Linked DNA regions of Homo sapiens: region 1 is linked to region 2. Evidence: promoter capture Hi-C in human tissues and cell types (Jung and others, 2019). All regions are on one chromosome and are shown on one strand. The core of a region is centred on a gene start or on the middle of the fragment in contact, and the rest is flanking DNA. Distances in the headings are between cores, read along the strand shown.

The links. Contacts are between HindIII fragments. The study calls those that stand out against the background at their distance.
Region 1: a contact is called between a fragment that was not itself captured here and the fragment with the promoter of CYB5A in region 2, in 1 of the 25 tissues and cell types used here (dorsolateral prefrontal cortex).

What each region holds. Positions count from the first base shown.
Region 1 is chr18:74,127,390-74,133,988 of GRCh38, forward strand. It overlaps FBXO15 (F-box protein 15), which reads right to left. Exons shown (of 10, transcript NM_001142958.2): 4 at 3,027-3,269; 5 at 2,016-2,225. Among named protein-coding and RNA genes, the nearest start is that of FBXO15, 17 kb to the right of the region's middle. The HindIII fragment of the contact is 3,921 bases long and covers 1,681-5,601 here.
Region 2 is chr18:74,289,907-74,296,529 of GRCh38, forward strand. CYB5A (cytochrome b5 type A) reads right to left here and starts at 2,057. Exons shown (of 5, transcript NM_148923.4): 1 at 1,841-2,057. The coding sequence starts at 1,969. RefSeq lists enhancers at 636-1,243, 1,849-2,018, 2,098-2,267, 2,557-2,616, 2,976-3,145. The HindIII fragment of the contact is 8,147 bases long and covers 1,855-6,623 here.

The sequences.
Region 1 (6,599 bases), core at 2,391-4,890, 160 kb before region 2:
CAGAGCAGAAAGTGCTGGCAAGGAAGAAAATTTGGAGTCTGACTAGAAAGGTATAAATTACAGGGAAATCCAGATTACATCAATGAGGCTTTCACTGTTGTTGAAAAACTTCTCATAGAGGAAACAAAAAAGACCCAAATAAAAATCACAAAGGCTCTTTTTGGCTGTCACACAGATGCGTACAAGGATTTATATTCCTGCACAATGAAAGCATTCACTTACAAACTTGCAATAAAAGTGCCGATCAAAACAAATCCTAAAAAACACTTTTAGTTTTGTTTATCACAGTTGATCAAAGGCTGGCTGGAGTCCATGGAAGTTTCACAGAAATAAATTACATCAAATGAATTTTCCCAATGAATTCTAGCATTGGGCACTATGTAGTATCTATTACTTCTGACCTTGATGACCATTTCAGGGAAATACTGTCTTTAACTGAGCTTTATAATTCAACATTATCCATTTAACTTAATTCTTCAGGATCATTTGAATTAATGTTAGCCAGTTTGTCCTAATATCTGTAAGTAACATTTCATGATATGCCAAGTAACATATTGTTTAGCAAAACTAGTACAGTTTGTGGACTTGTTCTCCAAACGTAATTTTGAAATGCATAAAGCCTAATTACTACATTAGAAAAAGCTGGCTTCCTTCATGATCCCGTATGAAATTTCAAAGATTTATCCAAATAAAAGTACCATTTTTTAAAAGGTAACTGTTTCCAAAGTATCTTCAGTAATATATTTAGGAAAAATAATTCATTTTTCATCATAACATTAAGAATATTTTTAGAGTACAATAAAACCTGGATTTGCCAGCACCAAGAGGTCTGAATAGTCTTACATTCAGAGCATGGGAAGAGAGCTCAGTAATCACTAAAACAATGCTCAAAGAGCAGGCGCCATGGAGAGGAGCCAAAAACAAGGTCCCCAGTTACAGAGCTGCAAAAAAAAAAAAAAGTGTCTGTATCCAGGGAAACCATGAAAGAACCCTGTCCCTCCATAGAGATGGCAGGCACTAATGTCAGATATCACAGTATCCTCCATAGCAAGGACAGACAGGAGAGAAACCAATGGGTGGAACTGCAGCACGCAAGGATGGTAAGAAAACGACATGGTAAATACTCCTGAAAAGTCAAAGAATACTGAGACAGTGAAGGAGATGGGAGGGCAGGAAACCAACGCAGGAGAAGGCAGGTATTACCTTTATATTTGCAATATATCTTATATAAAGCTATGTTAGCTTGCTCCAGAGATGAGGATGCTATGCATGCCATAATCCAGCTTTTAGGAGGAAGCAATCAATGATGAAAAAGACAGCCCGAGAGAGCTGCTCAGAAAGGCAGAATGCCAGCCTCATAGTGAGTATGGACTCAGTGCAAAGCCACCTGACAACAGAATAGTAAAGGGCTCACTAAGCATTACCCATGTGCTGCACACTTAGCTGATCTACGCATTTTATAGTGATATCTTTTGATCGATCTTATTCATTGCAGTCATATATGCTAAATACTATGCCAGTATAACGATCATTCCATTTCATAGAGGAGAGAATGGAGACACAGAAAGAGTAAGTTACTTGCACAAGATCACATATCTAGTAAGTTCAACAGAAGGCAGACAAAATAACTCATAATTATGACTTGGTTTCCTCATATTTAGACTATGATTAGTATACCATTTACTAAAGAAGGAAGATAACATATATCTTTCTGTTAAGATGGTTAAAATGAAAAACCTCAAAGGTTAGCCATCAATCATCCAGGAAATTTTGTTAACTAGAACATCATTCTTTACCATTAAAGACAACCCCAAGATACGAGGAAGTTAAATTTAGACCTAATCAGAAATGTGATAAAATGCACTCTTTTCCTCTTCTGCATTAATGCAGAATGTACATTTAATATGTGATAAAATTAAAAAACGCTGCTCTTATTTTTTAATTACAAAAGTAATGCCAACTAATATTTACATATAAGATGCTCTCACTCAACAGTTCTGCTGATTGGTACTTACCTATGTTTGGTGGGAGTTTTATACCAGTCGGTAAAAACTGGTGTCATGCCACATAAATCTAAGGTTGACAATGATGCTAGGCATGGCCATTTTTTGCCATACCATATAACAGTAACTGATGTGTCATTTATGGAAAGATCAACATGCTCCATGATATATTCTTTTCCACCTTTTTCTTTCAGTATAATTGCCCAACCTAAACCAAATATTCTGGAGAAAGAAAAAAAAACTAACAATGTTTGCCTCATTGAAAAAAAAAAAATGCTAAAGGCAATTTCATGTATCTTCTCTAAAGCATCTAGTTCCTTAAAAGCCAAAGTCAAAATTCTCAGAATGTGCCCAGTATAATTTTCACTTCAACAATAGTACTCTCTTTAGACTTTTTCTCCTCACCTAACACCCACTGAACATCCATGATTTTCCAGGTACTGGCAATATATAAATAAGACAAAGGTTCTGCCCAGAAAAGAGACCTTGAACATTCTTATTGTACTATAGCAGATAAGTAGGTTACTTCTGCTTTTCATTAAAACTTTAGGCTACTTACTAGTTATCCCTCTGTCTCCGCAAGAAATTGGTTCTAGGAACCCCATGATACCAAAATCTGTGGACGTTCAAGTCCCTTATATAAATGGCATAGTATGTGCATATAACCTATGCACCTCCTCCCGTATTCTTTAAATCATCTTGAGATTACTTATAATACCTAATACAATGTAAATGCTGTGCAAACTGTTGTTATTATGTATAATGTACTGGTTTTATTTGTATTCTTTTTTATACTGTTATTATTGTTTCAAGTTCCCCCCCACTAATATTTCTGATCTGCAGTTGGTTGAATCAGCAGATGCAGAAGGCTATGCGGAATAGGAAAATGATACATATTTTATAGATGCACAAAACACACAAAAATACTAGAGACAGTCCCACACAATCTAAACTGCACATACGTCCTACGTACACGATACTTTGAGCTGATGCCATCATTCTCTTTTGGAACACACTGCGTACCTGAGGGCCTCTTTGGTCTTAACTGGAAGGCCTGTGTAAGGGTTGACAGGTTTGAGAATGTCAGCTAGTGCGGCTTTTACAGATGCTATTTGTTTTGTGATATATTCTTTCTTCCAATAACCAGCTTCTTTATCCTGAACTGACAGAAAGCTCATAGACATAGCTATCTTCTCTACTGAATTAAATTTCCAATTTGATCTTGCAGGTGAAAAAGCAGTTGAGTAGATTCCGATCCAAATAAAACTGGAGGGAAAAGAGGAAATATGTTAACTAAGAGACACTGTCACCTACCTTAGTCATAATATATCAAATTAGAGATGCATATTTTCAAATAATCCAATTCCATGAATAAGCCAAGCTGAATATTTACAGTTGAACGTTCATCTGTTAAAGTGAATTGCAGTTTGAGATTTAGTGTTTTAAATTCAACACCACCAAAAACACATTTTAAAAAAAGGAAAAGCCCATTTCCCAGGGTCAGGTCTCAAGTGAGTAATCTCACGTTATTTAGGATCATCCAAACGACTGCCCTCTTATACCAGTAATGGAATAGGAAATATATTATTTAAACATAACAGAAAGTATATGTAGTATGATTCTTGTTTTTAAATACATACATGCTTTTAAAAAGATCAGAAAGGATGTATGTACACACACCAAGAAATTTCAATAGGGAACAATGGAATTGAACACTCTTTTTGCTATTTTTTAACTTTCAACAAGGAATACGCTTTCACAAAGAGAAAAAAAGTGAAGGTTTTTAATGGTAACAACTAAACAATAGTTAACATTAAATTTTGTCAACACTTACTATGTGTCAAGCATCGTTTAACCACTTTATGTATTATACATGACTCATTTATTCCTCAGAAAGAAACCAGGAGGTGCTGGTATTCCTGTCCCCACTGCATAGATGCTGTAACTGAGGCTCAGATGCAAGGTGAGCTGGCCCAGGTCTGTGCACTCAAGTGTATAGTGAAGCTGGGATCGGAACCAGAGCTCACACTCTTATCACCTGGGTTTCACTGCCTCTTCAATCACAAAGAAATGGGTCAAAGAAACTGAATAAGCTCCCCAAATTCAGAGAGCCAATAAGCCTCAATGTTGGAATTCAAATTCAGCTCTGACTCAAAGTCTGTTCCTTCCACTCATCTCTACTAAGAGGGCAGGAGAAGCCCCACGAGTGGTGGCAGTGAGCTGGCCTGAGAGCTCCTCCCTCTCAGCCAGTACTCTCCACCAGGAAAGAGAAGGAAGACACAGGGAAAACTGAGGCAGCGGTTAAAATCAATTCCTTATCTGAAAGGCAAACTTTGCATTTTAAACATTAATGATTTGCTCATTTAGGTCTCCACATTACTACTCAGAGCAGCATGGGATGAAGCAGTCAACGGCCTGGAGGCTGCAAGGAAAAAGCGATTCCCCCACAGAGCAGTGGTCCTGAACTGCAGCAGGACCCCTGGGGATAACTGGGTGCTCTGGGGAGGCAGAGCTATTTCCTTAACCACAGCAGAAAAGGACCATTTCTCAAACACGTGACTTTGGAACACCACCTCCTTGACTCAGACATTACATGGACTTCCCAACAAATGCAAGCTCACATACAGTCAGACCCTGGTTGAATTCTCTTCCTAGTGTGGGTTTCTCAGTCATTTCTCACTCTGCAAAATCACTTCATGCCTAGCTTTTATATTAAAGTGTTTGTGTTTTCAATTCAGAAATTTCTAGACTTTCCTATGTAAGCGGACAGATGCAATGCGATGATGAGTTGAGTACATTTAAGTAAAGCTGAAACTGTTTCACCAAAATCCTTTGAATAGACACTTTTAAAACTCCCTTTGCATAAAAGCTTGCTTGTGTTTTCTTCACATTTATTTTATTCAGCATCTCACCCTATGTAAGTATTCCTTTAGCAGGACCTTTATGGAGCCTTGAATTCCTCACATCAGCACTATCTAAACAACCTCTGATACTATTTTTACATGTGTTAGCACTTACCAACTGCAAAAACAAACACTGCCGCAGAGATGGGAATCACAGCATAAACTCCACATGCAGTGAGTAACCATAACCACAACTAACATTCGTATGATGAACTATGTTCACATACATGATCATATATTACTTACCGTAAGTGAACCTAAGTGAAAACATTTTATATTGCAGATGGTTCCCCTTGATTTTTTATAATATACAAATGTTAAGGTTCAGATACCTTTCACAGTCTCCAAACACATTTACTTCTTGATCCCCAAATGCTCCATCCTGTTAGAAGGCCTAGTCAGATTCGAGGACGAGGGCATATTTATCCAACAGAACTACCAACAGGCTCAGGGAAACTCAAACAAGTTGTTTAGAAAATGGGGCCAATTTAATGTTCAGATAAATAGTGTTTGCCAGAGTACATGGCAAATAAAACCCCCTTGTGATAAACCAGATGTCACCTCATCCACACACCCCTGTTTTTCTCACGCAGAGACAGGGCTCACACAGAAGGGAGTAGCCCCGCTGCTGGGATGGGGCACTGGGGAGCCCCCTGCCCTTCAAGTGTGCCTGCCCATAAGTCATCAGTGTAACTCACTACACTATGTGTGCTTGCCCTCTCTTCAGAAGTAACGCTTAGAATACACTGTAAACTTTTCAAAAACACATATTGATTACTTGTTCAATTATCACACATCCTTTTCTGTAGTCTGACTTCATGATCAGACGTTGACTTTAAGAGTCAGACTATGACTCTTTAGGTCCTTTAACAGGACCTAAAAAGTGCAATTCAACTTAGCACAATTAAATATGTCTTTTGAAAAAGAAAAGAAATGTGAGTGCAATTTCATCAGTAGCTCATATTTCCAAACGGCAACTTCCAAGAAAGTGAGGAGGGCACACAAATAATACTAAAAGTATGCAAAAAACATCACTAGAGCCATGCTCCAAATCTGATTCCAGGCCTGGTTTCTTCACCATGCAGGTGAAGTGGAGAGAGAAGACAGTAAAGAAACTAAGAAATATACAATGTATCAGCTTATCTGAAGAGTCTGAGTTCTACCCTTAAATAAAGTGGGAACCCTCCAGAATGCTAGTTTTAGATATTTGGTTGACTCCTTCCTTGAAAAATGCCTTGCTGTGCTTTCTTTTAGTGACCACCTTCATCTCTTATTAGATCATTGTCATAGTCTCTTTGTGTTGCTACAAAGGAATACTTGAGGCTGGGTAATCTGCAAAGGAAAGAGGTTTATTTGGCTCATAGTTCTGCAGGCTATACAAGGAGCACAACACCAGCATCTGCCTCTGGTGAAGCCTCAGGAAGCTTCTACACGTGGCAGAAAACCAAGGCGAGCCAACTGTGCAGAGATCACACGGCAGAGAGAGAGAAATAGAGTGAGTGAGCAAGAGAGAAGGAAGGGAGGTCTGCCAGGCTCTTTTAAACAACCAGCTCTAGAGCAAGAACTACAAGGAAGGCACCAAGCCATTCAGGAGGGATCTGTTCCCATGACCCAGATGACTCCCATTAGGCCCCACTTCCAACACTGGGGATCAAATTTCAACATGAGGCTTGGGGAAACAAACAAATCTCAA
Region 2 (6,623 bases), core at 807-3,306:
GTCAACAGTGCCAGGGTTGAAAAAACTCGCTTTAGGAGAAGACAAGAAAAGAAGAAAATGCTTCATAATATAAAATATCCTAATATTCTCTTATGCTACTTCTTCTATAAGCACAAATAGACAAAGCACACACTGTATCTTAAAATTCCACATTTAGAGTTAATGAGAATTGATGTTATATGACAAGATCTGCAGCCGGGCAGGAGGGAGAGGACAGGTCAGCTCTGATTTCCCAACATAAACCCCTCCTTACTAAATGGTAACATGACTTTATCTTCGGGCACTGCTCCAGAGTGAAATACCTTACCAATAAACATCAACTCCAGCCTTATTATTTAATTTTATTTATTTATTTAGAGACAGAGTCTCACTCTGTCCCCCAGGCTGGAGCAAAGTGGTGCGATTTCGGCTCACTGCAACCTCTGCCTCCCAGGTTTAAGGGATTCTCCTGTCTCAGCCTCCCGAGTAGCTGGGACTACAGGCGTGCCCCGCCAGGCCTGGCTAATTTTGGTATTTTGGTTAGAGATGGGGTTTCGCCATGTTGGTCAAGCTGGTCTCGAACTCCTAGACTCAAGTGATCCACCCGCCTCAGCCTCCCAAAGTGCTGGGATTACATGTGTGAGCCACCGTGCTTGGCCCAGCCTCATTTTTTAAAACAGGCCTTTTGATTTTAACATTTTCTGCAAAAACAAAGTCCTCTGATATAAACTGTGATCCAGCTCAGACCAGGCATCTATTTTTGTCCCCTGCTCCCCGACTATGTAAAAAATTCCCATCACTAAACCTTCTCATTATTGGGAGGGGGCGTGAGCATGCGTTAAGATTTATGATTGAGACTCCCCCAAAAGTAGTAAAACACTTCCAGAGGATCTAAGACAATCACCAAAAGCGCCCCTTAGCGTGTGCGGCAAAAATTATAACCGAATGCAAAGAATCTTATCAAAGGAATGTCTTCAAGTTAACCAACGTTTCCTATTACACCTTCCAAAGCTGTTAGGGGCGAGTCCCACGCAGAACGTCCGCTGCTCTGCCTGGCCTCTGTGTTCTTGCTCCAGCCACACACCGCGGTCTCAGGAGTCAAGCACGGCACCTGGCTGCCAAGGCGTGACTGGAAAAGGTTAATTAACACCGAGCCTCTTCCAGGTGAACGCGAACGCGAGTGGGTGTGGACCGCAAGGTCGGCCAGTGGCTGCCGCGGGAAGCGCAGGCCCGGACCACACCCGACCTCCGCACTTGGGGTCCCCTCCGGCGGGATCCGCAGCTCTCGGGGTGGGTGGTCTCCAGCCGGCCACTGCGGGAATGCCGCCGGTCCTGGAAGGACACCCTTCTATTCAAACTCAAGGGAGAAAGGGATCATTTAAATCCCCCGCATGGCTGCGCGCTATCCCCGGAAGGCTGCTCCAGCACCACCTAGCGAGGATGCCGCCGCGCAGGGCGCTCCCAGGTGTGCACGCGCAGGTGTACGGATTCGGGGAGCGCTCCCAGGTGTACACGCGCAGGTGTGCGGACTCAGGGAGCGCTCCCCAGGTGTGCACGCGCAGGTGTGCGGACTCGAGGAGAGCGCCCAGGTGTACACTAGCAGGTGTGCGGACTCGGGGAGCGCTCCCAGGTGTGAGCGCGCAGGTGTGCGGACTTGGGGCGGTGGGGGGCGCCCAGGCTTGCACGCGCAGGTGTGCGGACTCGGAAGCGCGCCCAGGCGTACACGCGCAGGTGAGCGAACTCGGGGGGCGCGCCTAGGCGTAGGTATGCGGACTCCGGGCCGCGAAAGACAGGTCATGCCAGTGAACCCCCAAACCCGGCCCACGCTCCCTGCGCCCCAAGCCGCTCATCCCCAACTCACCTCTTCCAGAAATTTGGTCAAATCGTACACCTTGTGGTGCAGGATCAGCCAGGTGCTCTTGCTGTGGTTGTGCTTCTGAATCTCCTCTAGGGTGTAGTACTTCACGGCCTCGTCCGACTGCTCTGCCATCTCGGTTCGCCGCGAGCCAGGCCCAGCACACACAGCCCCGTCGGGTGGAGCAGAGCGCGCGACTCAGCCAGCTCCACCCGGGACATTCCCCGCGCCGGGAACCCCACTGGGGGCTGGGCGGCCGGCTCAGGGGCGGGGCGCAGTAGAAGGGCCTCCGACGGTTGGCCATCATCCTTGTCACTCAAAAGTCCCCGCCTTCGGTCGACCCCCTCCGCCTGCCCAAGCGTGGTCCCGCCCAGTATGCGGGTGTTAATTGGCTGCCGGAGGTGCCCTTCACAATCTCCCGGCTGCCGCAGCGCGCGGAGAGCGTGACAGGACTCCACGGAGTCTGCGCGGAAGGGCGGGACTAACTGTGGCGAGGGCTGAGGTGGGAGGTCGGGGGCGTCCCCGCGGGTTAAGCGTGCGAGAGAGCGAGGTGCACCAGCGGGCATGGATGGCCTGTGCAGAGTCCAGTCTTGTGAGGGCGGCGAACTAGGCAGCGAATCGCGGGAGTTTCCTATTGGCAGCAGTCCGAGTCCCAGACGTTAATTTGTAACAAAAGTAGCGATGGCCAAGCCCATAAAGGGGGCATCTCGGAAAGCCGTTCGCATGCACGGAAGAGATGAAAGCCCCGTGCGCGCTAGAAAACGGTTTCGCAACTCACTTCGGGAAGCAAATGCGCTGCCCCCCAAAACATAAAGTTGGCGAACTGTGCCTGACCCCGCTGGGGTTTTGGAATGCCTCGTCCTCACAGGAAAAAAATCCAGGGAAATCATCTTTTCCTTAAAAAGCAAAAGTGTCCAAATTATTTCTGTGACTGAAGTAGTTTGTCTGCGGTTGGCCAGTGACATGGCAAGGCCTTGTTTGTGCATTTAAGGTAAATCAGATTCTCTTCTAGGAGTCTGGAAGAGAACTTCCCCAAAGGGCACCCTCTTTCCCTTCTGACACAGAGGAAATACCACATATAAAGAGCTACAAATGTTTGAAGGAGAAAAAAAATAAAGAAAAATTCCAGCATGTTAAAATTTGATATTTTATGTAGGCCCTTTTCAGCAATGGTAGTTAATTCCAAAAAGAACCACACGAGAGGTTTCACATGTGGGGTCATCCATCCTTCCAGGGATGCAGAAGGTTCCTACACATACTAGGTGTCTGATGAATGTGAGCTCCCTTCCCCCTGCTTACCTCCTCCATAGGAATGCATGCCTATCCAGAAAAACACAAAACACACGCATGTCAGGCCTCTGAGCCCAAGCCTGCACATATACATCCAGATGGCCTGAAGCAACTGAAGAATCACAAAAGAAGTGAAAATGCTGAAGCAACTGAAGAATCACAAAAGAAGTGAAAATGGCCGGTTCCTGCCTTAACTGATAAGACAGTCACCTGTCCTCCTGCTCTTTGCTCTGTGAGAAAGATCCACCTACAACCTCGGGTCCTCAGACCAACCAGCTCCAGGAACATCTCACCAATTTTAAATTGGGTAAGCAGCTTCTTTTTACTCTCTTCTCCAACCTCTCTCACTATCTCTCAACCTCTTTCTCCTTTCAATTTTGGCACCACCCTTCAATCTATCCCTTCCCTTAATTTCAGTTCCTTTCCTTTTCTGATAGAGACAGAGGAGATGTGTTTTATCCGTGAACCCAAAACTCCGGCACTGGTCACGGACTCGAGAAGACAGTCTTCCCTTGGTGTTTAATCACTGCAGGGATGCCTGCCTGATTATTCACCCACATTTCAGAGGTGTCTGATCACCACAGGGACACCTGCCTTGATCCTTCACCTTGGTGTCAAGTACCGACCCCCCCTGTGTCTCTGCCCTCTCTTTTCTCTGGGCTTGCCTCCTTCACTATGGGCAACCTTCCACCCTCCATTCCTCCTTCTTCTCCCTTAGCCTGTGTTCTCAAGAACTTAAAACCTCTTCAACTCTCGCCTGACCTAAAACCTAAACACCTTATTTTCTTCTGCAATACCACCTGACCCCAATACAAACTTGACAGTGGTTCCAAATAGCCAGAAAATGGCACTTTCAATTTCTCCACCCTACAAGATCTAGATAATTCTTGTCGTAAAATGGGCAAATGGTCTGAGGTTCCTGACATCCAGGCATTCTTCTACACATCAGTCCCGCCCTAGTCTCTGCTCCCAATGCGACTCATCCCAAATCTTTCTTCTTTCTCTCCTGTGTGTTCCTTCGGTCTCCACCCCAAGCTCTGAGTACTTTGAATCCTCCTTTTCTGTGGAGCCATCTGACCTCTCCCCTGCTCGCCGGGCTGAGCCAGGTCCCAATTCTTCCGCAGCCTCTGTTCCCCCACTCTATAATCCTTCTATCACTTCCCCTCCTCACACCTAGTCCGGCTTATGGTTTTGTTCCTTGACTAGCCCTACCCCACCTGCCCAACAATTTCCTCTTAAAGAGGTGGCTGGAGCTAAAGGCATAGTCAAGGTTGTTGCTCCTGTTTTCTTTATCCGACCTCTCCCAAAACAGTTAGGCTCTTTTTCATCAAATATAAAACCCCAGCCCAGTTCATGGCCCGTTTGGCAACAACCCTTAAACGCCTTACCGCCCTAGACCCAGAGAGGCCAGAAGGCCGTCTTATTCTCAGTATGCATTTTATTACCCAACCCACTCCTGACGTTAGAAAAAGCTCCAAAAATTGGATTCCAGCCCTCAAACCCCACAACAGGACTTAACCTTGCCTTCAAGGTGTACAATAATAGAGAAGAGTGGCAATTACTTGCCTCTGCTGTGAGAGAAACTTCAGCCACATCTCCAGCATACAAGAATTTCAAAACGCCTAAACCGCAGTGGCCAGGCGTTCTTCCAAGACCTCCTACCCCAGGATCTTGCTTCAAGTACTGAAAATGTGGCCACTGGGCCAAGGAATGTCTGCAGCCCGGATTCCTCCTAAGCAATGTCCCATCTGTGCAGGACCCCACTGGAAATTGGACTGTCCAACTCACCTGGCAGCCATTCCTAGAGTTCCTGGAACTCTGGCGCAAGGCTCACTGACTGACTCCTTCCCAGATCTTCTCGGCTTAGTGGCTGAAGACTGACACTGCCCGATCGCCTTGGAAGCCTCCTGGACCATGATAGATGCTTTAGGTAACTCTTACAGTGGAGGATGAGTCCATCCCCTTCTTAATACGGAGGCTATCCACTGCACATTACCTTCTTTTCAAGGGCCTCTTTCCCTTGCCTCCATAACAGTTGTGGGTATTGACGGCCAGGCTTCTAAACCTCTTAAAACTCCCCAATTCTGGTGCCAACTGGGACAGTATTCTTTTATGCGCTCCTTTTTAGTTATTCCCGCCTGCCCAGTTCCCTTATTAGGTCGAGGCATTTTAACTAAATTATCTGCTTCCCTGACTATTCCTAGGCTACAGCCACACCTCATTGTCACCCTTTTTCCCAGTTCAAAGCCTCCTTCACATATTTTCCTTGTATCTCCTCACCTTAATCCACAAGTATGAGACATCTCTACTCCCTCCTTGGCAACTGATCATGCACCCCTTACCATCCCATTAAAACCTAATCACCCTTACCCTGCTCAACACCAATATCCCATCCCACAGCACGCTTTAAAAGAATTAAAGCCTGTTATCACTCACTTGTTACAGCATGGCCTTATAAAGCCTATAAACTCTCCTTACAATTCCCCCATTTTACCCCTCCATAACCCATTCTGTTCTGGATCTCAAACATGCTTTCTTTACTATTCCTTTGCACCTTTCATCCCAGCCTCTCTTCGCTTTCACTTAGACTGACCCTGACACCCATCAGCCTCAGCAACTTACCTGGGCTGTACTGGCGCAAGGCTTCAGGGACAGCCCCCATTACTTCAGTCAAGCCCAAATTTCTTCCTCATCCGTTACCTATCTCGGCATAATTCTTCATAAAAATACATGTGCTCTCCCTGCTAATCATGTCCAGCTAATCTCCCAAACCCCAACCCCTTCTACAAAACAACTCCTTTCCTTCCTAGGCATGGTTAGGTACTTTTGCCTTTAGATACCTGGTTTTGCCATCCTAACGAAACCATTCATTCTCCCCATTTCCCCATATTACCTCTTTCCTGTTCCCCACCCAGACCACGCTTGGTTTATTGATGATAGTTCTTCCAGGCCCAATCGCCAATCACTGGCAAAGGCAGGCTATGCTATAGTGTCTTCCACATCTATCACTGAGGCTACCACTCTGCCCCCCTCCACTACCTCTCAGCAAGCCAAACTCATTGTCTTAACCTGGGCCCTCACTCTTGCAAAGGGACTGCATGTCAATATTTATACTGACTCTAAATATGCCTTCCATATCCCGTACCACCATGCTGTTATATGGGCTGAAAGAGGTTTCCTCACTACACAAGGGTCCTCCATCATTAATGCCTCTTTAATAAAAACTCTTCTCAAGGCCACTTTACTTCCAAAGGAAGCTGGAGTCATTCACTGCAAGGGCCATCAAAAGGCATCAGATCGCGTCGCTCAGGGCAATGCTTATGCTGATAAGGTAGCTAAAGAAGCAGCTAGCATTCCTACTTCTGTCCCTCACGGCCAGTTTTTCTCCTTCTCATCAGTCACTCCTACTTACTCTCCCACTGAAGTTTCTACCTATCAATCCCTCCCCACTCAAGGTAAATGGTTCTTAGACCAAGGAAAATATCTCCTTCCAGCCTCA